Regions from separate parts of the Homo sapiens genome. Here all the other regions are linked to region 3. Evidence: promoter capture Hi-C in 16 types of primary human blood cells and fetal thymus (Javierre and others, 2016). All regions are on one chromosome and are shown on one strand. The core of a region is centred on a gene start or on the middle of the fragment in contact, and the rest is flanking DNA. Distances in the headings are between cores, read along the strand shown.

Region 1 (2,700 bases), core at 21-2,520, 700 kb after region 3:
ACAAAGAACAGTAGGCACATCAGGAAAATAATAATTACTAACATTTATTGAGCAATGATTATGTGTCAGGTATCATTCTAAGTGCTTTGTGTGTATTAACTCATTTAATTCTCACTATGATGCTGTGAGGTAGGTTACTATTATTATCTTCACATTACAGAGGAGGCACCAGACTCAGACAGGCTGAATAACTTGGCCAAGGTCACATAGCTAGTGAATGGCGGAACACAGATATGAACCCAGGCACCCTAGAGACACATCTACTTACCACCTTGTATTGGAGAAGAGGTCAACAGTAGTGACAGAAGCAATAGAGTGGAAATTTTCAGTACTGCCAAAACTATGAGAGCCATATAGTCCACACCAGGCATGAAAAGGAAGCTGGCATGGTCTTGTGTTGTCAGTTAACCCTTGTATATAGGGTTTTCATTTCCTAACTAGAGAAGGAGGAGTTTGAAAGCAGGAACCATGAATTACAGCTCTTTGAAATGCTCAACATAGATTTGCTGAGTGAATAAATGACTGTTTTGAAATTAAACACAGGAGTGCTTTGAATAAATTACTTTGCATCTTGTATGTCAAACTGAAATTGGTGAGACATCTTTCACCTTGTGTTAAAAACTAAAAATCCCTAGATGTGGTCATAACATGGCTGGTTATAATGACACCTTGCATTTGTACTTGTGTATGATACTCAGGACTCCCTGAGAAAAGGAATGAAGAAACTTGGATTTTGCCTTCATAGGCCCTGAGGCTGTCAGGAACCAAGGGCCACTGTGTTTGTAATCCATTCCTTTGGCTGCTCTCCAAATCTAGGAAGACCTGGAGGAAAGGGGGGCTTTATTTTCTATCTTTGCCAAGATCAGGAAATAATTTGTGAACTCTCAGTAAACATTCTGGGGGCCTTCCCTCTAACACTGCTTTGGTGGAATAATATCTCCAGTTTTCACCAATCTTGGTTCAATATTTACCTGGGGGTTTGCAGTGATCATGGGGACAGGGCTCCAACATGAAGTGAAGGTTCATGAGAAGGAAAATGAGGGGAAGGCTGTGTGTGTGTGTGTGTGTGTGTGTGTGTGTGCTGGCTGAGGGATGAAGGTGGGAGGAATACCAGGATTCTGAAGCAATGAGAGTGGGATTGGGAGAGAGAGCTCATGTTGAAGAAGAAATAACTCACCAGTTCACATGGGCTCCTTTTCAAGGGTTTTTCTTTATATAAACAATTTGCCTGGTTCCAATTAGAAGCCCACATTAGGCAGTTAGCTCCAATTTGGCAGTTCATTCTTAATTTGGCTTTCCTTATGGGTGGGAGGGAGGGCTGACAGTTAAAAGGTTGATGGGAAAAACCTTGGTATCCTGGTGTGAAGACAGACCCTGGGATCAGAAGGTTGCCCTGATGACTTTGCCAATGTGTTCATTGCCCCTGTCCTGCTGGGGCGCATACAGCAGGCCCTTCTTTCTCATACGCCCTTGACAGACCAGGACTCACTGCTAGAAAACCCCTGGGGAAGTCATTGCTGAAGACTCTAGTGTGGGGCACATTAGGTTTGAGGAGCAGGGGAAACATTCAGGCAGCTGGCAAGGTCTGGGCTACCAGGAGAGATTTGGGAGTTAGAAGCATATTAGGTGAGAGTTGACACTGTCCAAAGGGAGTATATAGAAAGAAAAGCAGAGGAAAGGGCTCATGGAGTCATTACAGCCTGTGAGGTGGGAACAGGGTTTGGGAGTACTAAGGGTTTGGGGAGGGTTTATGTGTTTATTCACCCATTCATTTATTCAACATTTCTTGAGCTTTATGGCAGATGCTGAGTTGAAGAGGAAGCTGGGGATTTAAGAGGGAGAAGAGTTAAGAGGGGATCCCTGGGTGGATCCAGATGAAGGAGAAGGGAGGGGCTAAGTGCCTAGGCTCGCTCTTGCCAGGAGAGCACATCTGTTAACACAAAGCTGCATCTGTATCTCAGCCAGCTCTCTTCCATTTCATCTCCTCCTCTCTACCCACACTTGCAAGACGGGGAGCCACATGGCGGCTTCCTACTCCCTTGTACCACTACACCCCCTGCCGGGTTCTTTCTAGGCATTTAGCTGTGGCATCAGCAGCACCCCTTCTGAGAGATCAGGCAATCCCCAAGGGTGAGTGGTAGTGGTAGTGGTGGGGAGGGTTGATAGCTTCGAGAGAAGAGCTGGAGAAGGCGCTGTCTGGCTGTAATTAGCCCCAGCTGCTGTTGTGAGGCAGCGTTGGGGGCCGTCAGGAGTGTACATGCATGTGTATGAACCTGTGAGCGTGGCACCTCATTGCTATCACTCTATTTTTCACTGTATTGTGTGCTGGCTGCAGCCTCGCTGCTCTGAAACCCCTCCTGTCCCTGAGGATCCCGAAAGACAGAGTGTTCCACAGGCAGCACCAGCTTGAATCACTAATGCTATTAAGCAGGAGGACAACAAATATAGGCCCCCATATGTCCTGGATATGCAAGTCCCTGCTCTCTCTTTCCCCACCCCTGCTTCCTGAATGTTTCCAAGTGAGTGAAGTCCCAGCACTTGAAATTAGCAACACCTCACTTCTGCACAGCCTTTTGGCAAAGAGCTTTCACAGCTGCCATGTCATGCATCCTCAGACGCTTCTAGGAGAAGCATTTTATAGGTGAGGACCCTGTGGTTCAGGGAGGTGGAGAGATTTGCACAGGCTAACCCAGACAGTCA
Region 2 (2,967 bases), core at 11-2,510, 590 kb after region 3:
TGGCTTATTCTCTCAGCATGAGTAATACACAATGATTGTGTCAGGAAGCTCAGTCGTCTCTCATTACTTACTATTCGGGATTCCTACCCTAGCTCCTAATAGTGCAGCTAACCCTCCAAACTTCAGCCAGATCCTCCATCTGGCCCCTGACGTTGGCTATCCACCCTACAGCCTTTTCTTTGGGGCTGTTCACCTTATGCCACAGCCACTGCCTGGTAAGTAGGCTGCTGCTTAATCCTCAGCTGACTTCTGCATCTTCCACAAGATTCCACAAGGGATTCTAGATTTCTTTCATGCCACTTGACGGTCTTCTAAAACCTCAAGCTGCTATTTCTATTGCAGATACTTCATGGTAGCATATAGCTTTTCTAAGGGGCTTGAAATTTCCCATGCTACACTCTGCTCTGTGTTTCCTCCAGAATTCTCTGGTTTGTTCTTTCTTTCTTCTTTTTATTGAGATATAATTCACAAAGGATACCATCCACCCATTTAAATTTTACAATTCGATGATTTTTAGAATATTCATGCAGTTATGCAACCTTCAACATAATCAATTTTGGACACTTTCATCACCCCAAAAAAGATACCCCATACCCATTAGCAGTTACTCTTCATTCCTTCCTATTCCTCTTCAGCCCTAGACAACCTCTAATCTCCTTTCTGTCTCTATGGATTTACCTATTCTGAGCATTTCATATACATGGAATCATATAATATTTGCCTTTTTGTGTCTGCTTTATTTCAGTTCACATGATGTTTTCAAGCTTCCTCTATGTTGTAGCATCTACCAGTACTTCATTCCTTTTTATGGCCAAATAACATACTGTTATATGGATATATCACATTTTGTTTATCCATTCATCAATTGATTGACATTTGGGTGTTTGCACTTTTTGGTTGTTATGAATAATGTTGCAAAGAAAATTGGTTTACAAGTTTGTGTGTAGATGTGTGTTTTCATTTCTCTCATTTCATTTCATTTCTCTCATTTACCTAGTGGTGGAGTTATTGTGTTATATTATAACTCTGTACTTAACCTTTTCAGAAACTACAGACTGTTTTCCAAATTGACTGTACCATTTTAGAATCCCATCTTCAGAGTCAAAGTTGGGATTACAATTTTAAACTTTTTTGTTAAATTTATTCCTATTTTATTCTTTTTGATGCTATTGAAGATGGAATAATTTTGTTAATTTCAGTTTTGGATTGTTCATTGTATTTTTTTTTTTTTTGAGATGGAGTCTCACTCCAGGCTGGAGTGCAGTGGCATGATCTTGGCTCACTGCAAGCTCTGCCTCCCAGGTTCAAGCAATTCTCCTGCCTCAACCTCCCAAGTAGCTGGGACTACAGGTGCACGCCACAATGCCCAGCTAATTTATGTATTTTTAGTAGAGTCGAGGTTTCACCATATTGGCCAGGCTGGTCTCGAACTCCTGACCTCAAGTGATCTGCCCACTTTAGCCTCCCAAAGTGCTGGGATTACAGGCGTGAGCCACCACACCTGGCCTCATTGCATAATTTAGATCTTGTATCTTGCAACCGAGCTGAATTCATTTCTTACTACTAATAGTTTTTTGTTGGATTTCTTAAGATTTTGTGTACACAAGATTGTGTCATCTGATAGTTTTACTTCTTTCTTTCCAATCTGGATGTATTTTTTTTTCTCTTGTCTAATTGCTTTGCCTAAAACCTCTAGTACAATGTTGAATAGAATTGATGAGAGCAGACATCCCTATCTTATTCCAGATATAATGGGGAAAGCTTTCTGTCTTCTAGCATTAAGTATGATGTTAGCTGTGAGTTTTTAATAGCTTCCCTTAGGTTGAGGAAGGTCCCTTCTACTGGTAGTTTGTTGAGTGTTTTTTTTTTTTTTTAATTTATCATGACAGGTTGGATTTTTTGTCAAATGCTTTTACTGTGTCTATTGACAGGATCATGTGGTTTTTGTTCTTTATGTTGTTGATGTGGCATATTACTTTAATATACCATAAAATTAATACTTTACATTAATTTTGGGATAGTAAATCAACCTTCCAGTCCTGAGATGAATCCCACTTCATCATGGTATATAATTATTTTTTATATGTTGCTGGATCCATTTACTAGTATTTTTGAGGATTTTTACATCTGTATTCATTGTACATCTACATTCAGTGGTCTGAGTTTTCTTTTCTTGTGATGTTTTTGTCTAGTTTTGGCATCAGGAAAATACTGGTCTCATAAATGATTTGGGCAGTTTCCTTCTATTTTTTGGAAGAGCTTGAGAAGGATTTGGTGTTTATTCTTCTTTAAATGTGTGGTAGAATTTAACAGTGAGGCTATCTGGTCCTGGGCTTTTCTTTGTTGGGAGTTTTAAAATTCATTTATTTTTTTAGTTTGAATTTTTTATGCATTCATAGTGTGTTTATGGAGTACATGAGATATTTTGATACTAGCTTACGATGTACAATAATCTCATCAGGAAAATGGGATATGCATCACCTGAAGCATTTGTCATTTTTTTGCATTACAAACATTCCAATTATACTCTTAGTTATTTTTAAATGTACAATAAATTATTGTTGACTATTGTGCTATCAAATACCAGATCTTATTCATTCCATCTATATTTTTATAGCCATTAACCATCTCCACTCCCCTCTCCCTCACAGGGAGTTTTTATTATTACTGACTCAATCTAGTTATTTGTTACAGGTGTGTTAAATTTTTCTGTTTCTTTTTGAGTCACTTTTGATAGTTTGTATGTTTCTAGGAATTGGTTCATTTCTTCTGGTTTATCTAATTTGTCATACAAATGCTCATAGTATTCTCTTATAATTCCCTGTATTTCTGTAAGGTCTGTAGTAATATCATCCCATTTCTGATTTTAGTAATTTCAGTCTTTTCTCTTTTTTTGTCTAACTAAAGACTTGTCAATTTTACTGTTCTTTTTAAAGAACCAACTTTTGGTTTGGTTACTTTTCTCTA
Region 3 (2,789 bases), core at 73-2,572:
CTTTCTTGTTAGAGACAAAATAAAAGAAAAACTAAGGTGACAAGCGACTATGAGAAATAAGGCTTTAATCAGGTTAAATTTGCATTATGCAGCCTGCATGAATTTAGAGGTCCTAGAATCAAAACACTAGAAGGAACCTTTGATATGCTCTAGTTCAACAGACTGATTTTTGCAGAAGAGGAAACTGAAGCGCTGATGAGACCATTAACTGATAAAGCAAACCGCTTACTTTTTCAAAGGGATTCATTTCAATGCCATTTTACCCTTATTTTGCATCTCACTGTTGTTTCTCAGAGCGACGATTGACCTTTTTTTAGGTGAAAAGAGCGAATAGAGCGTATTAATTTCAAGAGGGTGAAAAATGCCTTTGAAGGAGGAGATGCTGGAGTGAAGAGGAGAAATGACGTCTTATTTAAAATATGTAACCCCTTGATGGGGTTAGACAATGAATCATATTCTCCTAGATTTTTCTATGTCTATAGACATCAGCCACAGTTCTTTCAGGCACTCAAACGAGAGGAAGAGGAAGTGAATAAAGCTCATACTAAATATATAGCACCCACTGAAGGCAGGGATGTAGACAGAAAGAACGGGGGTGGGGGAAGGAAGGAAAGCACGCTTCGCCAGGATCCAGCTGTTTTCTAACAAACCTAAGCCTACGGAAGCTAGGAAGATATCGGAAGCAAGGAAGATATCGGAAGCGACGGCATCCCTCAAATTCGAGAGGGCGGATGCCTCTAGGGCTAGAGAGGCTCCCTAGCCCTCAGTTACAGAGCGACTGGGAGGGGACAAAATGGAGTTGAGGTTTAGGGGCACCCTAAAGGTCGTTTGGAGGTCTAGCAAGCACTTCATGGTCTCCTCCGGAAAGGGCCGTGGCAAAGCCTAGTACCCCGATCAGGAAGATGACTTCTGGCCCTCGGGATGCGGTGAGCGGCAGGAAGAGGCAGGCTGGGGTTCCGAGGACCCCAGAGTCCATCACAGGAGCAGATACAGTGACCTCGGGAATCTTCCCGGCCCCAGCGGAGGCGAGCGGATAGATAGCCCTGGCTCAAGGAAAAAAGCGAGCCGACTCCAGGAGCTGGAATGCCCACCCAACCTCCTCCCGGCTCAGGTGAGGTACGCCAGTCCCCCTCTGGAAATGGGGCCCTGGTACCGACAGGGCAGGGGTGCCGGGGCCGCAACCTCCCCATCCAGGGATACTCACCGGAGGGGCGGCCCACCGCGTCTTCGCAGCCGGCCGGCGCCTGGCACTCGGAAAGCTCGCAAAAAGGAACCGCGTGCCCGCTAGCGCTGGGACGAGGAGGAGCGCGCGGCGGAGGCCAGAGAAAAAGCCGCAGCGGCGCGCGCGCACCCGGACAGCCGGCGGAGGCGGGACTCAGCGCGAGCCCGGAAAAGACGCGCCCGGAGGGGCGGGCGGAGCGGGGGCGCGCGGTGGTGTGGCAGAGCCAGCCGAATCGCTGGCTGCAGACGGCTCGGCCCACCCACGCGCCCGCCCCCGCTCGCCCGGGACGTCAGTCGAAAAGGCGGAGCCGAACGGGCTTCCCGGGGCGCGGGAGGGGCGCTGCGAGGAAGGCGAGGCGGCTAACGGCTCGCCTCAAGTTGTTGCTCCCGCTGGCGATCCGCTTCTGTCAGTCTCGCTGCTGGTGTCGTTGAGTGTGTTTCGGGATGTCCTTGCGCCTAACAGCAGTGAGGCGCAGAATTGGCCCACGCCCTCACCTGCGGCTTGCTTCGCAGGACTCCACCCCAGGATAAAAGTTCCCCTCGGGTCATCTTCCAGCTGCCCTCAAAAGACACTCATTTTTGGGTTTCACTGCTCCTCTTTAAGAGAGCTATCTTGAACACTTTGACTAAAAGCATCTTGCTCCTGTAAGCCTGAACTAATGCCTCTCATCCGTTTATCTTGCCTCTTACTGCGTTAAGATCCCCGCTCACTCCCACTGATGAAATATCACAAGGACGCAGGATTTTCACGTTGTCTTTCATTTCCACGATGGTATCATGGCAAAAAAACCCCCAACTGATAAGGAAAAGTCACCGCAGCTTTGTGACATCTTACTAGCCCTGATCATTGCTTATAAGCCGGTCATACGAATGCTGTTCCAACAGATGCAAGAAATTGCTATTAAAATTAAAATGCCAGCGAACTATCTGAGGGCTTCAAAAGGGACAGACCATAATTGCAAATGAGGCCTGATAAACTGCCAAGAATATATCACCCAAAAAAATAAATCTCAAGAATTCTTCCAGTTCCCTGATGCGTAATGGTGAACTAGCTTCCTGTTCCTGATGGTAATTGACATTTCACTTCACTTGCTGATTTCCATTTTCCCATAGAATTACCATTTGTGCTTGTGTGTGTGTATATATATATGTATATATAAAATGCCTTACCACCTGAGATTACAAGCTAGAGTAGTTCTTCAGTGTGCATCACAATTATCTGGGGTGCTTGTTGAAATGTAGGTACCTGGAGCTACAACCCCCAGGTATTTTGATTCTGATCTGGGTAGGGATAAGAAATTTGAATTTTTAATAAGCAGCCCAGGTGACACTAAAAGTGGTTAGCTGAGAGCACAGAGCTATAGTTTTTGTGTTACTACTCTAAAGCCATATTACCAATTCAATTTCCAAGAAACCCACCCACTTACATATAATATACCTATAAATATTGCTAAGACAGTCATGTAGCTTCCTTTTTCAAGATTGACCTACAAAGTTCAGTACTTCAAACAACGAGTTTAATTGTCATGTTTATTTTATGAAATCTTGTTTTAATACCAGAAATAAGC
Region 4 (2,700 bases), core at 159-2,658, 530 kb after region 3:
TAGTAAATTCTTAATAAATGGCAGCCATTAACAAAAATAATCATAATAACATAATACGTAAAAATGATAAGCACACTACTGAACAGAAAAATATTATATTCCAACTTTTAAAAATGACTCCTTACAACTTTTGATGCTAAAATGAATCCAGGAAAAAAGATTAATTGTATTTTGTAAGACTTGTTTTCTTTTGTTCATCTTTTCCAAATAGTATGATTGTTAATATCTTGTTATACAAAAGAAATTAAGCCAAACAAAAATGAGAAGTAAAACCAGGTATGTGCATGTGTGTATACACACACAAACATATGTATACACACGCACACACACACGCCTCTTTAATGTGATATATACAATTTGAGGAAGCTGTATAGAAACATGAGAAAAAAGATGAAAAGTAAACAGGAAGAGCTATAGATTGCAATGAGGGTAACAAGGTATACAAATGTAGGCAAATTTCCAACTTCAAGTATTTGAACAATTCATTCAGAATCACATTATTGTCAGAAAATTATACTGTAATTCTTCTGGTCATTACCCTAGGATATAAATGGACAAGTCCAGAAAAGTTGGATGTTTTCACCCCTTGCCAACATTGGCAAAAGAATTTATTTTTTTCTTTAAACAAAACCCAATTGCTACCACAATGACCACTACGAAAGATTTCTAAGGTATATAATGTTTGATAATGGGATTTCTGCTACAATTTCACTAGAAAGCACAAAGGGTTTCTATAATACCAACTCTTACTACCCAAATATAAAGTAATATTCTGTTTTGAAAACAGACTTGTGTTTCCAAAAATGTTTTCCTTGGAACACTCAGACTTTGGGGTGGGAGGATAAAAGGGTCCTGTAGTCAAATAAGCCTGGAAAATGCTACATTCTATTTCTCTCTCTTAGATATACATAACACTATTAACATAAAAGGTTCTGAGAAGTCCTACAGTGAGCAGAGTTGTTTACATTTTTTAACCAGTGTTTCCCAAACTTATTTGGTCACAGAATTCTTTTCTTCAGGTAGCGCAAAGGAACCAGTGTTCCTCATAACAACTTATTTTGGGAAATGTACAATAAATTGCCATTGATTAGTATTAAATGTGTAATTTAATATGTACCTGTCCCAAAAAGGTAGCCATTGGCAGAATTTGCTGAAGTCCCAAAAATGAGCCCATTGTATTTTATGTCAGAAAAAAAAAATCTAACATGCCTAGACTAGTACTTATATTATCTTTAACAAGTTGAATTTATTTCCAGAATATGTGTTTCAACCCTTACAGCCTGTATGTTATTTAATCAAATCCAAACACCCAGTTTCTTATACCTGTGAAAAGCTAAAAAATGAATATGATCCCCCAAGCCATTGGTTTTTTTTCTGGGCTTCACTGTAAGCTGAGAAAACCCTGCAGCTGTGAGCTACTGCATACCTTCAAATATGAGAATACCAAACTCAGTTACAGTATTTTATTAACTGGTGCTATGAGCCTGCATTTATGCAGTTCTACAGTAAAATAATGTTCCACATTAATCCTGAAGTAAAATAGTGATTATTACTTCATTCTCCTAACACCTCTATTAAGTATATAGAACAAAATACTGTAATTACTATTTTACCTATGGAGGTTGAGAAACATGCCCCAAGTACCAATAGTCAGCAGGGAGCAATTTCTTGTTGGACAGACACTGTGCATATTACAACTATAGAAACTGTATCAGATAATCACCCTAAAATGTGAACAAAAACAGGAAATTCCTTTACTAATAGCTTATTATTTAAGGAATTTTCTTCTTTTGAAATAATTTTGGGTCACAATTTGCTTGAAATCTAAACTTGAACCAAAAAATTCACATTGTGTGCTAGATAGCTTTTTGTGAATTCAGAAATTAAGAACAAAGTTTTAAACAACTGTAATGAGGAATTACTTTGTCCTTTTATTAGATAAAAGAAAATAAGCAAGCTACAATTAATTCTGGGTGAAGTGTGAATGTGAATGATTATACTGCTAGGCTGTGGCATCACTTTCTTCCTAGGCTCTCCTTTCAATTTCAAAAGTCCTTAAAAGTGTAACAAAATGTGTAAGATGAAAGAGACAACAACTATTTTTAAAAAACACAAGAGGGAAGAAATAATGACTGTTACTATAGAAATCACATATTTTGGTAACCCGTGGACATTTGGTCATTGGTTTTCAAGTTATACAAAATAAGCTGGCCACTGGAAGAAAAAAAAAACACTTCAAAACATCGATGGCAGAATACATTAATCACAGTATTTTATATTATGGTAATATATATCAATAACATTTTACCAGAGAAAAGGTAAATGGTTAAAGACAAAGGAAAAACCTGACATGAAGGAAGACAAGAACGTTGACAATTCAGTAAAAGGAGTTAAAGTATCAGATTCAAGTTTCATAAGTTTTTTTTTTTAATGTAAAAGCAGAGGTAACAAAAATTGGTCTTCACCTGGTAAGTGTGTACTCCCTGAGTCCTGAATGCAAATTCATGGCAGAAAAAGTACCTATGCATCCACGTAATCTTTTGTCTCGACCAATCTTCCATGTTACAAACAGTGGGCTGTAATGGAAGATAAAAATAGGGTAAATAAATCAATTCAATTCAAGCAAGTATTTATTGAGTATTGACTGTCTGCTAGGTTAGGTGCCTGAGATATAAAGACCAAAAGACAGGCCTTCAAGGG
Region 5 (2,955 bases), core at 381-2,880, 570 kb after region 3:
AGGTAAAGCACAGGAGGAAGGGGTACAATGGGACATCTCATTTATTCTCTGCTTTAAAATCACCCTGGAAAAAATTCTAGAAACTTTTTAGATTTGTACTGCCCTGATTCCAAAATTCACCCAGTTAGACAGTGTTTATACACTGCTGTAGACACTCAAATCCAATGATTGAAAAAAAAACTTGGAAGTCATAAATTTACACCTCCCCATTCCCATCATTCTACCATCTCCCAAAAATGGAAAACCAGCAGGACCAGTAAAGAACTTTGCTAGTGATAAACATTGCTAGAATTTACACAGTAAAAATTCTATAATGAAGGTGCTACCAAGCTTTCAAATATTCAAGATTACTGCTCTTGAAAATGGCAAAGCTCCAGAGAGAAACTATATTGAAGAAGGGGTAAGAGGAGAATTTTCCTAGGCCAGGCGCGGTGACTCACGACTGTAATCCCAGCACTTTGGGAGGCCGAAGTGGGTGGATCACCTGAGGTCAAGAGTTCAAGACCAGCCTGTCCAACATGGTGAAACCCCATCTCTACTAAAAATACAAAAATTAGCCAGGCGTGGTAGCAGTCACCTGTAATCCCCAGCTACTTGGGAGGCTGAGGCAGGAGAATTGCTTGAACCCAGAAGGCAGAGGTTGCAGTGAGCCGAGATCACGCCATTGCACTCCAGTCTAGGCGACAGAGCAAGACTTGGTCTCCAAAAAAATAAATAAACAAATCAAAAAACAAAAAAAAAAGAGAGAGAGAGATTGACTGATTTTCCTAAATTTATACTTCAAATTTGGGGTGGGAGAGATTGAAGTAAAAAGTGTTTAAATATAACAATTCTGAGAAAATGAATGGACCTGAGGCCGTGCTGGACTGGTACAAACTATTTAAATTAGTTAAGAGTTAATGAAGGGTTATTATGAGATGGTGAATATAACTTAATGAAAGTGAAAGAAACCTTAAAGACTAAAGCACTCCTCTTCTGTAAGAACTTATCTGAATTTCTCTAGACTGAGCGGAAATAAACAGAAGCAAAGGTTCTATGTGTAGCCCAATGGAGACAGGAATCAGGGCCCGTTAGACCTACATCCATTTTTTTCACTTTAAAATGGGTTTGCTTGTTCTCTTGCCACAATCAAAACAGAAAAGCCCTGACTTTTTCCCCCAGTTGTGCTCTACACTATGGAGGTGCCTGCCTATTTGAGATGCACGTTGTTTGAAGTCTGTGAAAAATGAAGTTGAAATCTAAATAGTTCAACCCTGTATAAACAAAATTGCCTCCCACTCCCCTGATGAGGGCATCCACCTTTGTTAAGAAAGATTTACGGATATTAAAAGTGATCAGGAACCTCTGTGTGGTCTGTACTAAAAACCACTGGATTCCATTTGGCCTCCTATCCCATTATGTGGCAGGAGTCTATGATTATTACATAGGGTCAACATCTACCTCTTCAACAACTTTTATTCAAAAATATTGTACTACCACTATTTTAACATCTGGTATTTTTTCTCCTCACTCTAATAGTATATAATTCAAATTGCAGATTCGACTATGATAGGAGGGAGAGTTCATTTACTTATAGACATAAACTGACTACATAGAGAACACTGTTAGTGAGCATTACGCTAGTGTTGTTTTCTGTTTCCTGAGTATACTGATACAATGCTCATGCTTTACAATCTGCCAGAGATTAGTCCCATATTTGGAAAATAATTTTCTTATATTCTAAAACATATTCTGGGAATAACAGAAGGGAGTTACTAAAATAGAATTTTACAGTGATCACTGAAAAAGAAGTTTAAGTTCTAAACTTATGTCTTAAAGACACATCTTCAGCTAAAATACTGAGAATTTTGCTTGTTTTTTTCTTCAAAGCATAATCATTCCTCAACATAAACTAAAAATATGCTGCTCATTGTAATTCAGGAAACTATTTTAGAATTTTGTTTCTAAATAACAGTATAAAACCTTTACAAGTTTGCTTATATAGATTGTTTCTTAAGAGTTGTAGCATTCTTAAAGCTCATGTGAAGAACCATAAGGAACATTCCCATTAGCCTAATCTATGTTTAAATTAATTTCATAAAGAAGACTGTCATCATTCACAATCTTCCTAAAATTATTATAATCCCTAGTACCTAAATTATCTCAGTTAAATTTGCAATATCCAAGTAAAATTTCTTCATTAACTTTAGGAGGAAAGAAAGTGACCAAACCATTTAATTGTATCATAATTATAGTATTTTTAAACTACATAACTTTGTAGCTAGACAATTTTTCTAACTTCATCTTTGAGACACTGAAGTTCAGAAGAAAAAAGATCACTGAACATAGAAGGCACTCAGGCAGTGTGACATAACCAATGTTAATCTAACTGACTTAAGCTGAATGCGTACTGAAGAATGAAAGCACTTTGTCTACAGAGCAGACTACTGCTTGTGTTATTTCCTAGTCTCTTGTCAAGGTTTCATGACATTCACAACATTAAAGGTGCTGGTGAGACATAATTAAACAGACAAAGAGAAATTTTACCAAGAAAGAGGCCACTCACAGGCCATTAAAATTTTAAAATTGTCAACTGTTAGACCTTCATTTCCCAATGCTTGTTATAGCTAGTCTCCTTACAGGTCCCCTTTCTTGCTAGGTTCTCCCCCACTTCAACCTACTTTTGATTGGTACCCACTGACCACTGTATAATGCTCATCCTGACCTATGTCTAAGATGTTTCTCTGCCTAGACTGCTTTTTCCATCTATGAAAGTTCTACCTAGCCTAAATCCTATTTTGTCTGTAAAGCTCTCCTGTACAATCTTAGCCCACATTAGTCTACCCAAACAATGAGTCCTACAGACATCACTGTCTCCATCACTCATTTAGCTGTTGAATCATATGTGACTTCATTATTTGTTTCATGAATCTTGTCTTTTCAGTATGACTGCAAGCTTTTTAAGGACATGAAGCA
Region 6 (2,700 bases), core at 61-2,560, 680 kb after region 3:
AAGTTGTGAAGAGTAAATGAGATAATTCATATGAAATATTCAGATAGGACCTGGCACAGAGCATTTAATAATTGCTACACATTACTATTCCAACTACTAGTATAATGATGACAATGACGATGTAGCCACAAATAAAGACAAGCTAGATCTTTAAATACTGATGTGCAATGATATCTCCAATATAGTATTGTGATAAAAGCAAGTTGCAGAAGAGTAAGTATAGTAGGATCTGATTTTTGTTAAGGGTATTATATGTTACACATACAGGAAAAGACTGGAAGGATAGACAGACTGTCAACACTGGGGAGTAGAATAGGAGAGGTAGATTTTCCCTTGAGCAATAATTAGAGTTGTTTGAAACTAGCATGTGCTACTTTTATAATAAACAAAAGATGTAAAGGGAAAAAAAAGCTCCGTTTGGAATTCCGAGGACAGTTAATCCCACCAGGCTTCACATCCCCCAGTTCTTGGCCACAGCCCAAACGTTAAGCCTCCCTGCTCGTCATCTGTCCTCTCCCATACCATCCTCATACTGCTCAGTGCTCCCATCCCTGCCACCCCGACTCATCCACCTCCCCACTACCGCCCTCTCTCACTCTTCTCAGTACCCTCTGGAAGCCCCCACCTTGCAGTAAACAATTCCCCCTACACCCTGGATAAATTTTACAGAGCACTATTGTCTACCTCCGGGCCTGGAAGTGCTGAAACCTGAGTCTCCACGGCGGATCTCACGGCTTTGCCACCAGCGCCCTCTAGTGGACACTGTCCACACTCCCACACTACAGGCACCCTAGGGCTGGGAGGTGGGGTCTGTGCTCTAGCTTCCCCTGTTTGCTTCCAGGCTGTTAGTCCTCCGTCCTCAGCCAAGAACTCCTCCTTCTCATGCCATCTGGCTACTTCTCTCCTCGTTGACGCTTCTTTATAACCATCCCCTCCTGGTCAACCCCCCCCCACCCCCACATTCAACGAAGAGTTCGACATCTGGCTCATTGTCTTCTTCTCCACCCCAAGTCCTGACATCATTCTGGGTGAGTTGGACATCCGTGATCCATGTACAGGACACACTCTCATCCTAGCCTTACCATGCTTCATCATCAGTCAGAACCCCCTACCATCTACACCTTGCTGGCTGGCCTCAACGCTCTTCTTTTTACCTCAGGAGGCTCTCCAGTTTTTTGAGCCCCCTCCATCCATTTCTTCCATCCCATCAGCCCCTTTCACCTTACTACCTTCCCTCTCCATCCTGGAACATGATGATGATGATGATAAGAATAACAACTAATATGTATGTGCCAGGCATATACTACCCATCTTATGACATCATTTCAGTAATCTCATGTTATCCTCACAATAACTTTATGAGGAAGATACTATTGTGGTTTTCCTTTTAATGAGGTGACTGAGGCTCAGAGAGGTTGAGTGACTTACCCAAAGTCCCACAGCAGAGATGAGATTTGAAGTCAGGTCTGTTTGCTTTCAGAATCTTGCGTATATCCCCAATTCCCTTGCCCTGTGTCTTTCTGCTGCATCCATGAGGCAAAATCCTAAGTCTGGATAAATTTAACTGACAGTTTCCTCCTCTGTGCTTATGCCCAGATGGAGGAACATTGCTGGAGAAAATCCCATCACTTTGTTGGTTAGTCCCACCAGAAAGTCATAGTTTCCAACCTCAGCGGGGCCCTCAACTCAGCTAAACAATCCTTCTAAGTAACTGTCCTGACAATAGCACTTGCAAACTTTCTCCACTGCCCTCTGGAGTCAGACTGTCTGGGTTAGAGTCTGCTTTGGCCACTTCCATGCTCCATACCATGCCAGCCTTTAAGAAAGGGTGAAGTGGAGGAAAAAGGATGAGGGGAAAGGGGAAGTGATATGTATCGAGTGTCTTCTAGGTACCAGCCACTGTGCCAGGTGCTTTGCATGCAGTGTTTCATTTAATCCTGCCAGCAGCCCTGCAAGGGCAATACTCTTGTTATTTTTGCTTTACAGAGGAGGAAGCTGAGGCACAGACAGGTTAAGTCACTCACTAACGTGACACAATTTGTATGTGGAGAAGCCATCTCATTCGTTTAGACCTTCCTTATCTTGATGAATTATTGTGACAAGCTGATAAATGGGTCCCCTGTTACCTATCTCATGCCCTACAATCTACCTTCCATTCTGTTGCTGGGACAATCTTTCTAAAATGCACATCTGACAGTGCTACTACTCTGCTTAAAGTCCTTCCAGAGCTTCCCCTCAGTCTTCAGAATGAAACAGAAACCTTTGATCTTAATGATTTGGCCCTGTCCTTCCTTTCTCACTGCATCCACTACCACTTGCCCATGCAGTCACACAGTACTATTTTTGGCCACCTGATGACACCTTGCTTTCTTCTGAAGAAAGAAGAAAGCATATATATATATATTCTCTGCCTCCCCATCCTCCACACCCTTTCCTGCCCACTTTAAATGCTCCTCTTCTGTGCTTTCACAGCATTCATGTTTATCCCAGTGTGTTATAATTTCCTGCTGTCTTCTCTGTTTCCCCCATTAAACTGGAAGCATCTTGAGAACTGGGATTGTGCCTTAGTCATCTCTGTACTCCCCAGGGCCGTAGCACCAGAGCCATGGTTAAATCTATGTTTGTTGAATGACTGAATTAATGAATGAATAGAGTGAATGAGAGAAGAAAAAGCTCTCACTTGGAAAGTTTAGTGACATG

The links. Contacts are between HindIII fragments. The CHiCAGO score rates a contact against its expected background, and 5 or more counts as called.
Region 1: a fragment that was not itself captured here is called in contact with the fragment with the promoter of ACSL4 in region 3 in 1 of 17 cell types (naive B cells); the score reaches 5.2 in naive B cells.
Region 2: a contact is called between a fragment that was not itself captured here and the fragment with the promoter of ACSL4 in region 3, in 12 of 17 cell types (total B cells, non-activated CD4 T cells, naive CD8 T cells and 9 more). The highest score is 27.8, in total B cells.
Region 4: a contact is called between a fragment that was not itself captured here and the fragment with the promoter of ACSL4 in region 3, in 2 of 17 cell types (activated CD4 T cells and total B cells). The highest score is 6.1, in activated CD4 T cells.
Region 5: a contact is called between a fragment that was not itself captured here and the fragment with the promoter of ACSL4 in region 3, in 2 of 17 cell types (activated CD4 T cells and total B cells). The highest score is 8.0, in activated CD4 T cells.
Region 6: a fragment that was not itself captured here is called in contact with the fragment with the promoter of ACSL4 in region 3 in 2 of 17 cell types (non-activated CD4 T cells and total B cells); the score reaches 7.3 in non-activated CD4 T cells.

Annotation. Positions count from the first base shown.
Region 1 is chrX:110,430,275-110,432,974 of GRCh38, forward strand. The region is part of intron 1 of RTL9 (retrotransposon Gag like 9); the gene reads left to right. It also overlaps a transcript of AMMECR1 not described here. Among named protein-coding and RNA genes, the nearest start is that of RTL9, 73 kb to the left of the region's middle. The HindIII fragment of the contact is 4,673 bases long and covers 1-2,700 here.
Region 2 is chrX:110,322,790-110,325,756 of GRCh38, forward strand. All of the region lies in intron 1 of LOC105373312 (a long non-coding RNA gene), which reads left to right. It also overlaps a transcript of AMMECR1 not described here. Among named protein-coding and RNA genes, the nearest start is that of AMMECR1, 6.2 kb to the left of the region's middle. The HindIII fragment of the contact is 997 bases long and covers 763-1,759 here.
Region 3 is chrX:109,731,935-109,734,723 of GRCh38, forward strand. It overlaps ACSL4 (acyl-CoA synthetase long chain family member 4), which reads right to left and starts at 1,323. Exons shown (of 16, transcript NM_001318510.2): 1 at 1,205-1,323. It overlaps LOC105373311 (a long non-coding RNA gene), which reads left to right and starts at 577. Exons shown (of 1, transcript NR_158569.1): 1 at 577-2,789. RefSeq lists enhancers at 686-735, 796-935 and silencers at 1,058-1,178, 1,276-1,585. The HindIII fragment of the contact is 5,191 bases long and covers 1-2,789 here.
Region 4 is chrX:110,262,024-110,264,723 of GRCh38, forward strand. It overlaps AMMECR1 (AMMECR nuclear protein 1), which reads right to left. Exons shown (of 6, transcript NM_015365.3): 2 at 2,466-2,576. Among named protein-coding and RNA genes, the nearest start is that of SNORD96B, 38 kb to the left of the region's middle. The HindIII fragment of the contact is 3,693 bases long and covers 1-2,700 here.
Region 5 is chrX:110,302,171-110,305,125 of GRCh38, forward strand. All of the region lies in intron 1 of AMMECR1 (AMMECR nuclear protein 1), which reads right to left. Among named protein-coding and RNA genes, the nearest start is that of AMMECR1, 14 kb to the right of the region's middle. The HindIII fragment of the contact is 2,605 bases long and covers 329-2,933 here.
Region 6 is chrX:110,412,572-110,415,271 of GRCh38, forward strand. The region is part of intron 1 of RTL9 (retrotransposon Gag like 9); the gene reads left to right. It also overlaps a transcript of AMMECR1 not described here. Among named protein-coding and RNA genes, the nearest start is that of RTL9, 55 kb to the left of the region's middle. The HindIII fragment of the contact is 6,094 bases long and covers 1-2,700 here.